Linked DNA regions of Homo sapiens: regions 1, 2 and 3 are each linked to region 4. The links are contacts of gene promoters, found by promoter capture Hi-C in blood cells and fetal thymus (Javierre and others, 2016). All regions are on one chromosome and are shown on one strand. The core of a region is centred on a gene start or on the middle of the fragment in contact, and the rest is flanking DNA. Distances in the headings are between cores, read along the strand shown. Region 1 has its middle 34 kb from the start of ARHGAP18. Region 2 holds the start of HDDC2 (HD domain containing 2). Region 3 holds the start of L3MBTL3 (L3MBTL histone methyl-lysine binding protein 3). Region 4 holds the start of ECHDC1 (ethylmalonyl-CoA decarboxylase 1).

Evidence for each region. Contacts are between HindIII fragments. The CHiCAGO score rates a contact against its expected background, and 5 or more counts as called.
Region 1: a fragment that was not itself captured here is called in contact with the fragment with the promoter of ECHDC1 in region 4 in 1 of 17 cell types (non-activated CD4 T cells); the score reaches 6.6 in non-activated CD4 T cells.
Region 2: the fragment with the promoter of HDDC2 here is called in contact with the fragment with the promoter of ECHDC1 in region 4 in 2 of 17 cell types (total B cells and naive CD8 T cells); the score reaches 5.3 in total B cells.
Region 3: a fragment that was not itself captured here is called in contact with the fragment with the promoter of ECHDC1 in region 4 in 2 of 17 cell types (fetal thymus and non-activated CD4 T cells); the score reaches 8.1 in fetal thymus.

Annotation. Positions count from the first base shown.
Region 1 is chr6:129,742,689-129,746,395 of GRCh38, reverse strand. No RefSeq gene overlaps it. Among named protein-coding and RNA genes, the nearest start is that of ARHGAP18, 34 kb to the right of the region's middle. The HindIII fragment of the contact is 1,169 bases long and covers 1,668-2,836 here.
Region 2 is chr6:125,299,617-125,303,226 of GRCh38, reverse strand. HDDC2 (HD domain containing 2) reads left to right here and starts at 1,260. Exons shown (of 6, transcript NM_016063.3): 1 at 1,260-1,378; 2 at 2,568-2,689. The coding sequence starts at 1,295. RefSeq lists a silencer at 1,231-1,570. The HindIII fragment of the contact is 13,888 bases long and covers 1-3,610 here.
Region 3 is chr6:130,018,343-130,021,791 of GRCh38, reverse strand. L3MBTL3 (L3MBTL histone methyl-lysine binding protein 3) reads right to left here and starts at 3,211. Exons shown (of 23, transcript NM_032438.4): 1 at 3,128-3,211. RefSeq lists an enhancer at 872-931 and silencers at 1,292-1,361, 1,412-1,651, 2,602-2,731. The HindIII fragment of the contact is 3,997 bases long and covers 1-3,449 here.
Region 4 is chr6:127,342,359-127,345,631 of GRCh38, reverse strand. ECHDC1 (ethylmalonyl-CoA decarboxylase 1) reads left to right here and starts at 2,023. Exons shown (of 6, transcript NM_001002030.2): 1 at 2,023-2,296. RefSeq lists enhancers at 117-990, 1,865-2,738. The HindIII fragment of the contact is 1,394 bases long and covers 1,693-3,086 here.

The DNA of each region.
Region 1 (3,707 bases), core at 1,003-3,502, 2.4 Mb before region 4:
TAGGAAATCCATACTTACAACTTGGTGTATACCTCTTTGTGTCTTTCCCCATGCTCATATAACATATGGAAACATAAGGACATAAATGTATTTTGAGTTGTATTGTTCTATAAATAATAAAAACCATATAGTACTATAGTTTAAAACCTCTTTTGCCATCACAGTAGAATTCTAGATTTTAATTTTTTTTAATTTTTTTTAATTTTTTTTTTTTTTTTTTTGGAGATGAAGTCTCACTCTTCTCCCCCAGGCTGGAGTGTGATGGCGCGATCTTGGCTCACTGCAACCTCCGCCTCCCAGGTACAAGCAATTCTCCTGCCTCAGCCTCCCAAGTAGCTGGGATTACAGGCATGCACCACCACACCTGGCTAGTTTTTGTATTTTTAGCAGAGACAGGGTTCCACCATGTTGGCCAGGCTGGTCTCTAATTCTTGACCTCAGGTGACCCGCCCACCTCAGCCTCCCAAAGTGCTGGGATTACAGGTGTGAGCCACCATGCCCGGCCGAATTCTAGATTTTTATAAATTTCTCTCTAGTTTTTTTATAGCTGTCTAGCTCTCTCCTAATTCAACTGCAGTTTTTCTTGGCAACCTGCCTTTTGAAGGATTCATGTGGCATTCACGTTTGTTTTTATAGAAGCCATTCTTTTTGAACTCATTTCATCAGTTTGATATAAAATTTATCTGATTGGAATAATAGGTCCAACTAGCTAATAGCTTGCCAATTCTTGGTAAACATATATAACCAGAGAAAAGCTCCCCCAACCTAGATAGAAGCCTGCAAGTTTCCAACATTCTGCTTCTGTTGTGGGTTTTACAGAGGGTTGGGAAAACTTTTATTATATACATAATTGTTTCCTGCTATTTGTACCTGGATGGTAGAGACTGCACGTGCTTTTCTGTGTCTCCTCCACTATTACTCCTGTAATATTATCCAGAGATTCTTTTATATCTGTGGTTATGTGGGAAAAAAAGGATTTGTTGAAAATGGCCAAACTTACTCTTACTAACTTTGCATATAATGTACTTTAAAGGATGTTCTGATACCTTTCTCTTCACTTATATTTTGAGGTAAGCTTATTCGATGTGTCACATATTACAGTTCTCTGAAGCCTCTTGCATGTTTCACATTGTGCTGACAAGATGTAGTTTTTCCCTTGATATATGTCTCGTTTTTGAATCAGAGTTCTTATTATCAAGTCTTAGTCTTTAGCTGTGCAAATGTGTCCCTTCTCCCACCTCCCCAAATAGCTTGGGCATTACTGCCAAATATTAGATTGGTGCAAAAGTAATTGCGGTTTTTGCCATCAAAAGTAATGAAAACCGCAATTACTTTTGCACCAACATAATAACTTCATACTCTTTATTGTATCGAGTATGCAGTCTACAAATTACAGTGAAGTAGCAGGCCCGGGGTGCCAGTGTCTGGAATTTGGTCAGCTAGAGAGCAGGTTGGTTGATATCGTAAGTCCAGCATCTCTGAAGACAAGTATAGGGAAAGTTAGCTAAGTTGTAAGGGATGGGCTGGGACCACAGCCCAAGCAGATCAAGTGTCAACTCTGGGAAAACACAAAGGGATGAGTCAGAGATTCAAGTGTAGAATTCCGTGGAGAGAGAGAGGGTCATGGGACTAGGGAGAGAAGCTGCAGAGTGGGGAGGATGGAAGCTTTGTTTGACAAAGCTATATGTCAAGGTCTAAACACTAGGCCTTAGAAGTAGATCAAGTAGCAACAAAATAATGGTATTTGATACTGGAATCATTTGGGGGGAAGTTATGTCCCCAGGATGGTGAAAGGGCATGGCAGGCCATGCAGAATTGATAACTAGCTTTTACTTTGTACTCCTCTCATAAGTTATTTAGGTTTCTACAAAATGTACCTACTTTGTCCGAACCTTTAAAGAGGTCAGAAGCAAAAAACAAGTGAGAGGTAGTGACGATGTTCATTTAGAGTCTGTACAGCTCGTCTGTTCAGTAATTGCTCAGTGAAGTGGAACAGGAAGAAGCTGATGGCCACTTGGCTGCACTCAGTCTGTGTGAACTGGTTTCTTCTATTTTATGATCCTGGATTATCTGTCTACAAGAAGTAGTGGAAAAAATAAATCCATTAACTCCATGTGGCCTATGGCAGATACTGGGGATTAAAAAGTACAGGGATTCCTAGCCTCATCTCAAGAAAAAGGTGACAGAAAATACTAACCTTATTGTTTGCCACCACATCATCAGAGTCAATGGATAATACTTTTTTCCCTTATCTTTTTCACATTTGATTAAGAAAAATAACTACAAGAGGTGCACAGAAAATTCGGGAATTTGTTTTTAGAAAGTTGTTACTGCTCTTTATCTGGTATGCTTTGACTATTTCTAGGAAAGTGTTGTTTCTGTGGTTGGGCTGGCACTTTTTTTTATATGATTAACTATTTCTTCACTGATGATTTTTTTCCTCAGAGTTACACGTTACATAATATATAAAGGAAACCTGGAAAATCTTAGTTAAAGCAATTTAAGAAGTGCTTTATTTTTGAGAATGGCAAAAATAAAAGAAGCAGAATGTGTTTGATCTGTATATCTATAAGTCACGTGAATGATGGACTGAGTTTAAATGTAGTTGCTTTTTCTGTATATATTATAAAGACTAGAGCTTTTGATTAAAGTTCCAAAATAAAGAAGCAGTTTGCCTATAAAGTCACTGCTGATTAGTCTAAATCAAAGCAGAAACATTATCCCCTTTGAAGAAAATTTATGAGTAAAGGGCTCAAGGATCTGTTATTACAACTTGTCCCTCAGATGTCAAAGTACCCTAGGAACCCCTATACCGGGATGTCTTTTGGAATAAGCTTATGAACCACATAAAAATCTCACTCATAGACAGTTCTTAGACAGTGTTAGAATGTGTTTTATTGTAAAACCAGTTAACTTCATAGTCACACGTGAGCTGTAAGCTGTCCCTTGCCATTTAAGTAGTACTAATGGGGATGTCATTTACAGTAATAGCTCTCTGTTTTCTCTAATTAAGGGGCTCTTTGTGGTTTCATTTTATAATAAAAACATGGATCTATGCTTTCATAACTTCATTTCACTTGCTTTGTTTCTACCCTTAGATTTGTTTTCAATTTCAGCTCAACACATTTAAAAATTGTCCATTCAAAGAAATTGGTTAAAAAATTGTAGGTATTGTATTAGTTTACTAAGTATGTTTCCCTCTCCCATAACAATTAGAAAATAATTCTTGTTTCTATTTGCTTTTTTATTGTGGTAAAATATACATAATATGAAACATAATTTTACCCATTTTAAAATGTATATTCAGTGATATTTAGTCCTTTTTTTTCTTTTTTTTTTTTTATTATTTTGAGACAGAGTCTCGCTCTGTTGCCCAGGCTGGAGTGCAGTGGCACAATCTCGGCTCACTGCAGCCTCTGCCTCCTGGGTTCAAGCGATTCTGCTGCCTCAGCCTCCCAAGTAGCTGGGATTACAGGCATGTGCCACCACATCTGGCTAATTTTTGTATTTTTGTAGACATGGGGTTTCACCATGTTGGCCAGGCTGATCTTGAACTCCTGACTTCAGGTGATCCACCCGCCTTGGCTCCCTAGAGTGCTGGGATTACAGGTGTGAGCTACCACACCCAGCCTTTTTAATTTTTTTACAGGATAACCCATTACTGACAGATGTTTTTTCACTGGATAATAAATGGAGAGATCTGAGGT
Region 2 (3,610 bases), core at 11-2,510, 2.0 Mb after region 4:
AGAGAAATAAACCTTTGATGTGTTAAACTGCTGAGATACAGGAAATAAGGAGGTTGTTTGTTATTATAACATCCCAGCCTATACTTTGCTTCCTAATTTGGTGAGAAAATAGAAGCAATCAGAAGAGAACTTCTACAACCTCCCATGACCACATGTGCGACTGATTAGTCACCCTATACTCTGTCCTCCTCCAATATTTGAATGAATTCTCCATATTCCTATCTAAAGCCCATCTTTTATCTTGTACACCAGATGGGAATATTTTTCCTTACTCAAGGCCGACATTCAAATATTTCTCTTCTTTGTCTCTTACATAATCAATGTTTCCCTTTCTACTAGATCCCCTTCATCAGTAAACATACATAATATCTCCTGTTTTGAAACAATCTCTCCACTAGTTAACAGCACCCCAACCCCATCTCCAATGTGCTGTAATACTTGCTCCTATTCTCTTCGGAATTATCTCACTAGGTTCTGCTTGGCCCACTACACTGAAAACTGCTTTTGTCAGGGTAACCAATAATATTGAATTTACTAAGTCTGGAAGTCAAACCTTGGTCCTCACATTGACTTGGTTGACCATATTCCTTCCTTCTTGAAATATTTTTGTACATGGCTTCCAGGACACAACTATCCTACCTACTAATCCTCTTCCTACCTCACTGGCTGTTCCCTCTTGATCTCACAAAGCCTAAATGTTGGGGTTCAGGTCTTGGGTGTCTTTTCTTCTTCATTCACACCCTCTTGCCAGGTGACCTCATCCAGTTTCATGGTTTTACACTGTCAACTGAAGAATAACGAGGTTCATAAATTTAGAAAGGAGAGCTTTATTTTTCATAAAGAGTACTGAGTGTCAAGTATGTGCCAAGCAAGGTGTCTGCCACTGACGGAGCAATGCCCAAGCAGCGGACACCAAGGCCAAGAAGGCGAAGGCTGGACAGAAGGTCCTGAGAAAACCGTGAGAATATGGAGGAGGGGGAGGAGGAATAAGAACAGGAGGAGGAGGGGGAGGAGGAATAAGAACAGGAGGAGGAGGAAGAGGAGGGGGAGAGAGGAAGAGGGGCAGGAGGAAGAGGAAGAGGAGAAAGCGGAAGTGGGGGAGGAGGAGGAGGAGTTGGAAGGGGAGGAGGAAGAGGGGGAGCAGGAAGAGGGGCAGAAGGAAGAAGAAGAGGGGGAGGAGAAAGAGATAGAAGAGTAAGAGGAGGGGGAAGAAAGACAAGGGGAAGGGGAGGAGGAGGAGGACGGGGAGGAGCTTCGCCGCGGCCTGCTCCGCCCAGCCGGGGTCGGTGGCCGCATGGCTTCGGTCTCCTCTGCGACCTTCTCGGGCCACGGGGCTCGGTCCCTACTGCAGTTCCTGCGGCTGGTAGGGCAGCTCAAGGTGAGCGGGCACCAGGCCGGGAGGCCGCGGCCGAGCGGGCGGGACTGTGGGGCGGCGGAGCTTCCGGCCTCCCCGCTCGGCCGGCGGTCTTTGCCCTTCCTGCGCCGCGTCCGCCACGCCGAATTCCGGAAAGGCCCCAGTCCTGCGGATGCGGCCGCGCGTTGCCGACGGTGGACGGAGGAAGCAGCCGGCGGGACAGGCTGGCCAGCTGGGGCGGCCCGGAGTCTGAGCCTAGAGCCTGGCGCCGCGAGGTCCGCACTGCAGCCGCGCCAGTTCCCGGAGAGCAGCCGGCCTGGCCCTGCCTGCACTGAGCTTTTCCGGGGCTCACGACCCCAGAACTCGTGTGTGTGTGTGTGTGTGTGTGTGCTCACGACCCCAGAACTCGTGTGTGTGTGTGTGTGTGTGTAAAGCGCGGCTGCTTCTGAGCACGGGTGGGAAGAACAGAATCTGTCGGCTCCTCAGATTTTAAGTGGAGCTTTTTATGTCTGTCTCACAGTTACTTCCAGAAACAAGACTTTTCTCCCGGCCACCCCCCAAACGGGATTTAATGTAATACACACGAGTTTCATCATGTGCGTCTTCCCCGTCTCTCTCCCAAGTTCAAAGTAAATTATCCGTTTCATGCCACTCTGACTACTATTTATAACATTCCTTAGAGATGTAGAATTCTGAGGAAGAAATGCAGTTTCACAAGATGAAGTTATGATGTGAATAAAAGGAAGAGTCACGGCTGGTAGCATCAAGCAATTAGAAGTGCCCTTATCCCTTGTGCCTCAGAATTTGGAAGCCTATCACTCGTTCACGTTCAGACCCTTCAATACAGTGTTTTCTGCTTGTGTAGGATTATTTGAAGGCAAAAAGCCGCAACTCTTGTTCGGAAAAATGCAGTTTTGTTTTTGTTTAAAGGACTTGCATATGTTCCATAATTATACATCAGTAACAGAATAATTTGACGAATGGACTTTGTGACTTATCTCTCTCTGTCTTCTACCCCTTTCATTCTCTGAGCTCTCTAGTTCATTTGATTCCAGATGTCTATCATTTTAGCTAGTTTAGCAAAACATTTTGTAATAGGTTCTGAAATTATGACCCGGCTTCTGTGTGTTATATCCTGGACATCTCTTGAAGAGCATAGCAGATAGTTAATATTTGTTCTTTAAAACTTCTTTTTCTTCTTCATATTTATCAGAGAGTCCCACGAACTGGCTGGGTATACAGAAATGTCCAGAGGCCGGAGAGCGTTTCAGATCACATGTACCGGATGGCAGTTATGGCTATGGTGATCAAAGATGACCGTCTTAACAAAGACCGGTAAGCTGAGCTGGACTTTGATGCTCGTGAGAGATTCTGGTCTATGGGTGTGCACCCGTTTTTACTACTGAGACCCATGTCAAATCCTTGTAGGTTAGTTTATAGGTCAAGAAAAATTATTTGAAGCAAACCATACAAATTTAGGATGTGGGTTATGTTGCCTCAGTTGTTGTAAACTGCAATCTGGGGTTTCTGTTGGCAAGTGATAGAGCCTGCCTAGGGTATCAGGGGAAACTTAAGTGTGATATTGGGGCCTTGAAGGTGAGTGTGTTATGTCTAAAATTCTAGCATTGTATTAGTACACTGTGTGCTCTTTCCTAGTGCCTTTTATGGATAGTAGTATCCATTCGTGAGGCTTCCTTTTGGAGTTGTGTGTGCAAGACATAGCTGAGAAAGAGGTATCTTCTCCCCCTTCATTTAATCGACAAGTGTTAAAATGCTTTTTGAGCACAGAACAAAAGTTTACTAGCATGTAAGAGAGTAAATAAATCCCAAGTGAATTACGCAGGCCCAAAATAGCTTCTGTAAGAAGTGAAATGTAAGTTATGGTCGAAAATGTTAAGTATTGTAAGAGCAGGGGAGATCACCTGTTCTTGGTTGATCTTAATGGAGGAGGTGCAATCTGAGTTGAGCTCAAAAGGGTTAACGTAGCCAGAGAGGTAGGAGAAGTCACTGCATGCAGAGAGAAGGGCAGATAAACCAAAGCCCTGAGTGTAGGAAAGTAAAGGAGTATTTTGCAAATGAGAAATTAATCAACTTGACTGCAGCAAAGAGTTCATTTGGGAAGCCTGAGGAGTCCTCTGTTACTCAGCAGATGAAGTGGAACTGAGGAGGTTTTTGGCAAATGGTACAAGGTGAAAATGAAGTCCAATAGAGATGCAGTTTGGAGTAGTCTGGGATTTGAACTGGACCAGAAAGAGA
Region 3 (3,449 bases), core at 404-2,903, 2.7 Mb before region 4:
GTGAAACAAAATTACAGTCTTAGAACCAAAAGGGACTACTTACTCGGACTATACATAACTATACAGCTAAGAAACTATATAAAATTGCCTTACACTTATCAGACAGTAAAATGAACAGCTCATATAAAAGACAAATCTCAACTAAAGGTCTTTTCCATTTCTTCAAAGTTTTAAACACATTTCAACTTAGCAGTTTTCTTAACATTCAAAATAAAGTCATCAGCTGAGACTCGTTAATTAAAAATTGATCAGAGGTACAGACACCGATAAATGCAAAAGCAAACAATTGTTTCCAATTCAGGGAGCGATCAATCTCAAATCTCTGAATAAAAGCAAAGTGTCTTTCCCATATAACTCATGTCGGATGGAAGTTACAGGGTCTGAGTCCTCAGAATTCATTGCTTCGATTTACTAAACTTTCAATTTCTGATCAGCATCCTTTCACACAACATCTGGCTGCTCGCTCAGGTCCTCTAATTACTTCCACGTCTGAACGGACTACGTAGCTACGAGTAAAGGCCAAACTTTGCTCTCGGCCTTCCGAACTTAAAAGACGCGTTCAACCACTAGAGGTCTCCCCTTGGCCAGTTTTGCACGTTCGCTATTTTGCTGCACTTGAAACTTTCCGGAGAAATGCTCTCTACTCGAGTCAGTGTTTTTCTAAAAACTTGCGCAAAAATCCACGCGACCGAGATAGCCAGCATAGAGCCTCTCGGACTCCCTAAACCAATAAAGACATCACAAACAACGCTCTAGGAAAACCAAAAGGAGAACTGGACGCACTCGCCCCGGCCGCGCCCCCCCACCCCAAATTCTTATTTCTCATCTCAGTTTCCCCTAACCTAACAATTAAAAATCTATTTTTGTTTCTGTGCACTCTGAATGATCTCGAATGCATTTTTCTGGCGGTGGCCCCGAGGTGGAGAAGCGGGCCAAGGGATGCGAGGCGTTGGGGGTGGGGGCGGTGAGGGGGAGGGCCGTGCTCACAGCGCCCGAGGAAGTTGCCTAAGGAAAGGGACTCCGTTTTTCGGGTCCCCTCAAAAAATCGGCGGGGAGGGGGAGGAAAAGGAAGCGGGGTGGTGGCAGCAGGGGGACTCAGAAGGGAAACCGAAGCAACGTTTACCTCCGTCTCCCGTGGAAGGGTGGGGTAGAGCCGCGGTCCCCGCGCCCTGGAAAGCGGCTAGTTACCCCCACCTCCCTCTGAGCGCGACGGACAGACCGACGCCCCCAGCCCTCCGCGGGGACCCGGGAGGAACACGCCCGCTTTTAAACTTTCTCTCACGGTCGCGCTGCGGGCTGTGCTTTGACCGGGACTGGGGGAGGGGGGAATCGCAGGGCCTTTTTTTCTTTAAAGGTAATTAAAGTTTTACCACCAGTCCAAAAGTTGCGCCCTCCCCCCGCCCGTGCCACCGTGCCCTCCTCCCCTTCCAGGGCTCTCAAGTTTTTCTCCCCGCCCGGCGGCCCCCACACTCCACCAGCTCGCGGGGCGCGCGGCGGATGCCTCGGCTCCTGCGCTTCCCGATCCCCACCCCCGCCGGCCTCTACTTCCCCCCGCCCCGCCGCCGCGGCGCGAGGACGGCCCGCGGGGCCCAGGACGCGAGTGTGCAAAGCCCATTATTCCGGAACCGCACACACACGCGGCGCGAGGCGGGCGGTGGCCCCGGCGCCGGCCCCGGCCCCGACCCCTCTTTTCCTCCCCAGAATAAGGCAGGCGTAAACAAGTTGCAGGAAAAGCAGCCCCGCGCCGCCCCCACCCTCCCCCCACAAGCCCGCCGCCCCGGCGCGGCCGCCGCCGCCGCGACCGCCGCCGCCGCCTCCCGACACACGCCCGCGCCCGCGCCCGCACCCGGGCCGGCGCGGCGCGGCACGGCGCGGGGCGAACGCCGCGACGGCGCGGGCTCCCGGCCCGGCCCGCGGCCCGCGCCCTCTCCCGCGCGGACGGCCGCCGCGGGCCCGCGCCGCCTCGCTTCCCAAAGCACTTTCCTGCCTCGGGCAGAAATAAACCGGAGGGTTTATTTTTGTGCAACTTTCCCAAAATGGCGGAAATTGGAGCTGATCTATATGAAATTCTCACACACTCGGTTGGGAAGAGGGAGGCGGCGAGGAAGCCACGCAAACTCTCGGCCGCCGAGCCCCGCCGCGGGTCCGTGTGTGTGCGTGCGTGTGAGTGTGCGTGTGCGCGGTGGGAGTCGGGCAGGCCTTTCCGCCGCGCACACACACAGCACACGCCGGGGAGACGCGCCTGCACATTCAACCAGTCCATTCTCCGCAGCCCGAAAGGGGAGAAAGTGGCCCGGCCTCTTTTCCCACTGCCTCGGTCTCCCGTACTTGTACTTCTCGCGCTCGCCCGCCCGCTCGCTCGCTCTCCGGTGCGCGCCCGGCACAAAGGCCACACGGGCGGAGGGGGCCGCAGGGGCGGCGCGCGGGGCTCGCGCCTCCCGCCGCACCGATCCGCGGCCCCGGCCGCCCCCGCGCCCCCCGCCGGCGCCCCCCGCCTCGGCGGCCGCGCTCGCCGCCTGGGCTGCGGCTCCGCGGCGCCCACCCGGACACGCACCCCGGTGGAGCCCGGCGCCGCCGCGCTCCCCCACCCCGCGCCCGGTGTCACGAAAGCGACCAAAGTGACAAGCTCGGGGGGCGCGGGGGAGGGGGCCACACGCATCCCGCCGCCTGCGCGCCAGCCTGAGCCCAACGCGGCCGCCTCGCCCCGGCTCCCTTCCGCACGGCCCCCCACACCCTTCCCCGTGTGCGCGCAAAGAAAAAAATACAAGTCTCTCCTCCCCCCATTTTTTCCTTTCTCTTTTCTCTCTCTTTTGTTCCTCTTTCACACTCGCACTCACTACTTCAGAGTGAGATGCCCAGAGACTCCCCCTCCAGCCGTTTCCGAGTCACTTGCCCACTTTTTTCCCCGGGATTAAGTTTTCTCCTCTTTCCCAGAGGCGCAGAGAAGTGGGGGAGAAACCCCTTCTGTCCCTCCCCTCCCCTGATCTGTTTCACAAGACGAGGGTGCGCTTCCTTCCCTCTATAGGGCTCTTAACTTTCATCCTCACCCAGAAAAATAAATGAATGGCTTTTGCACGGACAAATCTTCAGATTAATTAGAGATTAGATCCGATCAACCGCTTCTTACCCCCAAATTTTCTCTTTTTTTTTTCTCCGTCTCACGAGTAGTCCTGACAAATGGTCCAGGGCTGCGGGCGCAATGCGCATGTGCGCGTAGAGTCAGGGCTGGGGAGAGGGGAAACTGCGCTGGTGCCGGTGCCGCCGCCGCCGCCGCCGCTGCCGGGGAGGCTCGCTCTGGCTTCCCTGTTACTGCTGCTGCGCCTTCGCCGCTGGAAAGCAGCAATAAAGCCGGGTGGCAAATGCAGCTGCCCGCAGATCCTGTTTCAGGTGCATCTTTTCAATAGCCCGGTCACCGCCTCAGAGCTGGTTCAAGAACAGTCCAAACAAAT
Region 4 (3,273 bases), core at 774-3,273:
ATTGGATTTTTTTTTTTTTTTTTTTGGCTATTGAGTTGACTTCTTCATATACTCTGGATATTAACCCTTTGTCAGATATATAGTTTGCAAATATTTTCTCCCATTCTGCAGGCTGTCTTTTCACTCCGTTGATTATACATATTATGTATTTACTTATCTTTCATTGTCCACCTACCCCACTATATAGAGTTTAACTTGGATATTTTCCCAAAGTGTTAAAAAGAAAGATGGAAAATGGGAGCCAGAAATAGAAAGCCCACTGAGTACTACAGTTATCACTGAGAAAGAAGAATGAAAGTTATTACTGAAAAATAAAACTGAAGAAACCTCTCAGATGGGCCTGGTGCCTGGGTCCATGGGGACAAAAGTGGAACATCAGTCTAGCAGTCTAGTCTGGTGCTGGGGAAGACCTAAAGCCTGATTCTTCAGAGGCCATCATGGAGGCTGGGTTTGTGGGTGGTAGCCTGTAGGCTAGGCCCTCTGGGGTAGTTCTGGTGCCAGGGTCTACTGGGGTAGACCTGGACCTTGGGTTTGTTGGAGCAGGCCTGGAACCTGGGTTCACTGGAACCTGGGGCTGTAGGGACCAGCAGTCAGTGGACCTAAAGCCTATATCCACTGGTGCCAACCTGGAGACTGGGGCTGTAGGGCCCAACCTGGTGTTGGAGCCTGGTGCCTGAAACTATGGGGACCAACATGGGGAATGGAGTGGGCATAGATCTAGGCGCCATGGAGATTAGCCTAGCATTGGGGTGATCTTGGAGTCTCAGTGAAATGGCTCAGTGATCTTGGAGTCTCATTTTATAACAAACTAGAATTAAATACAGTACTTCTAATAATGACTTCTTCCAATTAGTCCAAACTGGGCTCCCACTTATTCCCTATCATACACATCTCCGTATCGTAAAACTATCCTCCCTGTTCGGCGCGTTGGCACATTCTGTTCCTCCGACTAGAATATTCCCTGTACTTATTCAAATCATACCTATGACCACTGCAGAACTCCAGGAACATGACCATCCCATCTAAACCCCTGCGTTCAGAGACTTGACCAAACTCTAGCAAGCTTTAGCAGCATAAGGCCCTGTGCCCAGGGCGACTGCCTCAGAAAGCTTAACTACGTGATGTAACCAGCACACAACTGATGATAGGTCTCTGACATCCCTTTCTTAGAACGTTTACTAAAGGGCTTGCAATTGTAAAGACTTATTTCTTGCCACTCAGAAGTTCTCTCTCAAGGACCAGAGAGTCATTCCTTTGAAATGTAATCGAGAAGGATAAAATCCTCCGTAGGAGGATAGAATCCTGCGGTAACTGTTAAAACGCGCGCACACACAAACACACAGCTGGCCTAATCACATTTACACTAACAACTCTGTAGGTTCACTTTCTCTACTGAGCGCCCGCATATCCCCTTTCTCCTTTTAAAACGTCCCTTTAAAAATGCCCAGATGATCTCTGCACGAATCGAAATAGAGCTCAGCTCTTTCCTGTCAGTAGTTAACTGAATGTTTTCACCGCTTTAACGTCCAGCTGCGCTTATCTTTGACATCGACTACCTAAGGTCTACCTTTAGTCCCACGACTCTGACAAAATGATCTCAATATTGGTGTAAAATCACCTCCCCTTTCAAGGGTCTTCCAAAGCACTTCCTGTCTGCGGCATACAAAATGTATTGGCACGGAATTTTAAGCTTACTGAGCTTTATAAACACGTCACATTCACACATTCAAGACACACACTGGATATTCGGATAAAAACAAACAAACAAAAAACTGGCTAAATACCCATTCCCCTCAATAACTTGGATAAGATACCTAAAAAAGGTCGACCTTCGGTACCTTTCTGTCTTCTCCCCTCTCGCTATTTGCCTACACTGGCTTCCTCACCTCCACTTTTTCTCACGTTTATCTGAGCGAAAACAAGCACGGTTCGGCAGCCTCCTTTCCCAGCCCTACCTTTGTGCTGCAAAAGCGAAAATTCAAAAGCCAAGTACAATAGGAGACCGCCCACCCTGGCTCCCTCGTGACACGAGGGAGCGCGAAGCGGAGGGCGCCTCGCGGCAGGAGCGGGATTTCCGGGGTCACGGGAACCGGCAGGGGAACGGGATAAAGTTCCCGGAGAAAGGAAAGGAGAGCGTGGGATAGTAAAAGAGAAGACGCGGAGAAGAGGAGAGGACCTACAAGAACGGAGGACAGGGGCGCACGATGGTCCCGGGGGGAGCGGAAACAAAGGCACGCAAAACGGAAAAGCGTGTGTAGGGGAGCGGAAAAGGAAGTCACCACCGTGGCCTGCGACGGTAAGTGGTCGTAAGGGTTGGTCTTAGCGCTTCAGTTTAGTGTTGTCAGTGGGAGAATCCTAAAATGTCGCCGTGGAATGGACTGTACCGCTCGCTTCTCCAAACGTGTCCCAGACGGCGAGCCTCCCCGGCTCCGCGGCTTGTCCCTTGCAAGCGCCGCGCAGGCCTGCCCCGCGCTGGACGTGGAGACGCGGTGCCGAGCGCCACGGGCCGGCTGTGCGCCGGCCGGGGAAAGAGGGCGAGGGGAAGAGATGAATCGGTCTTCCCAGAGCGCGCCGCGAGGTCGCGAGATTACACTTTAAAAAGCATGAGGAGGCTTGCTTTCTACATGCTGATTTAATTTCGGAATACATTCGAGGCCCTGTGCTAAGTTAGGTAATGTTCCCTATAATTGTCTTTTATGTATAAGTTGTCTTGCCTAACTAAAACTTTTCTTACTTGTATCGTGCAGCCAACTTTTCAAGAACGAAAGATGAGCAACTCCTTTCTGGTAGAGGTTCTTTCATTGGAGAATTTTTGAGCTACAATAATCCTTTTAACGCTGCGCACACATACAGGGATTACACGTGTAGGGGATTAAAAACACAGTTAAGTTTAGGTTGAAGGTGCTGTTAAGGACTTCAGGCAACATTAAATCAACACTCAGTTCTTTGCTCTGTTCCACATCTGGGCTCCTGTATAGCAGTTGTTGCTCTAGGTGCTAGAGGTATGCAGAGGAACTGGACAAGGGCAAGGAAAACAAAGGGCTCCTTCTTTAGAAGAGCTAGCATTCTCTTGGAACAGACAAGCTTGTGGTGAGAAGTATATTTGTGAAATCTACGAGGGGAGGGAGCAGCGCAGTAATAGAACGGGCGATCCTTTCTTGATTTTTTATTGGGTTCTGGCCTGAAAGGCGACTGTATAATCAGCTGGGATTCCTGCAATGATTAACATTCCAGGAAGGGAAGCCAGCCTGTGAAGAAGCATGGCATTGAAAC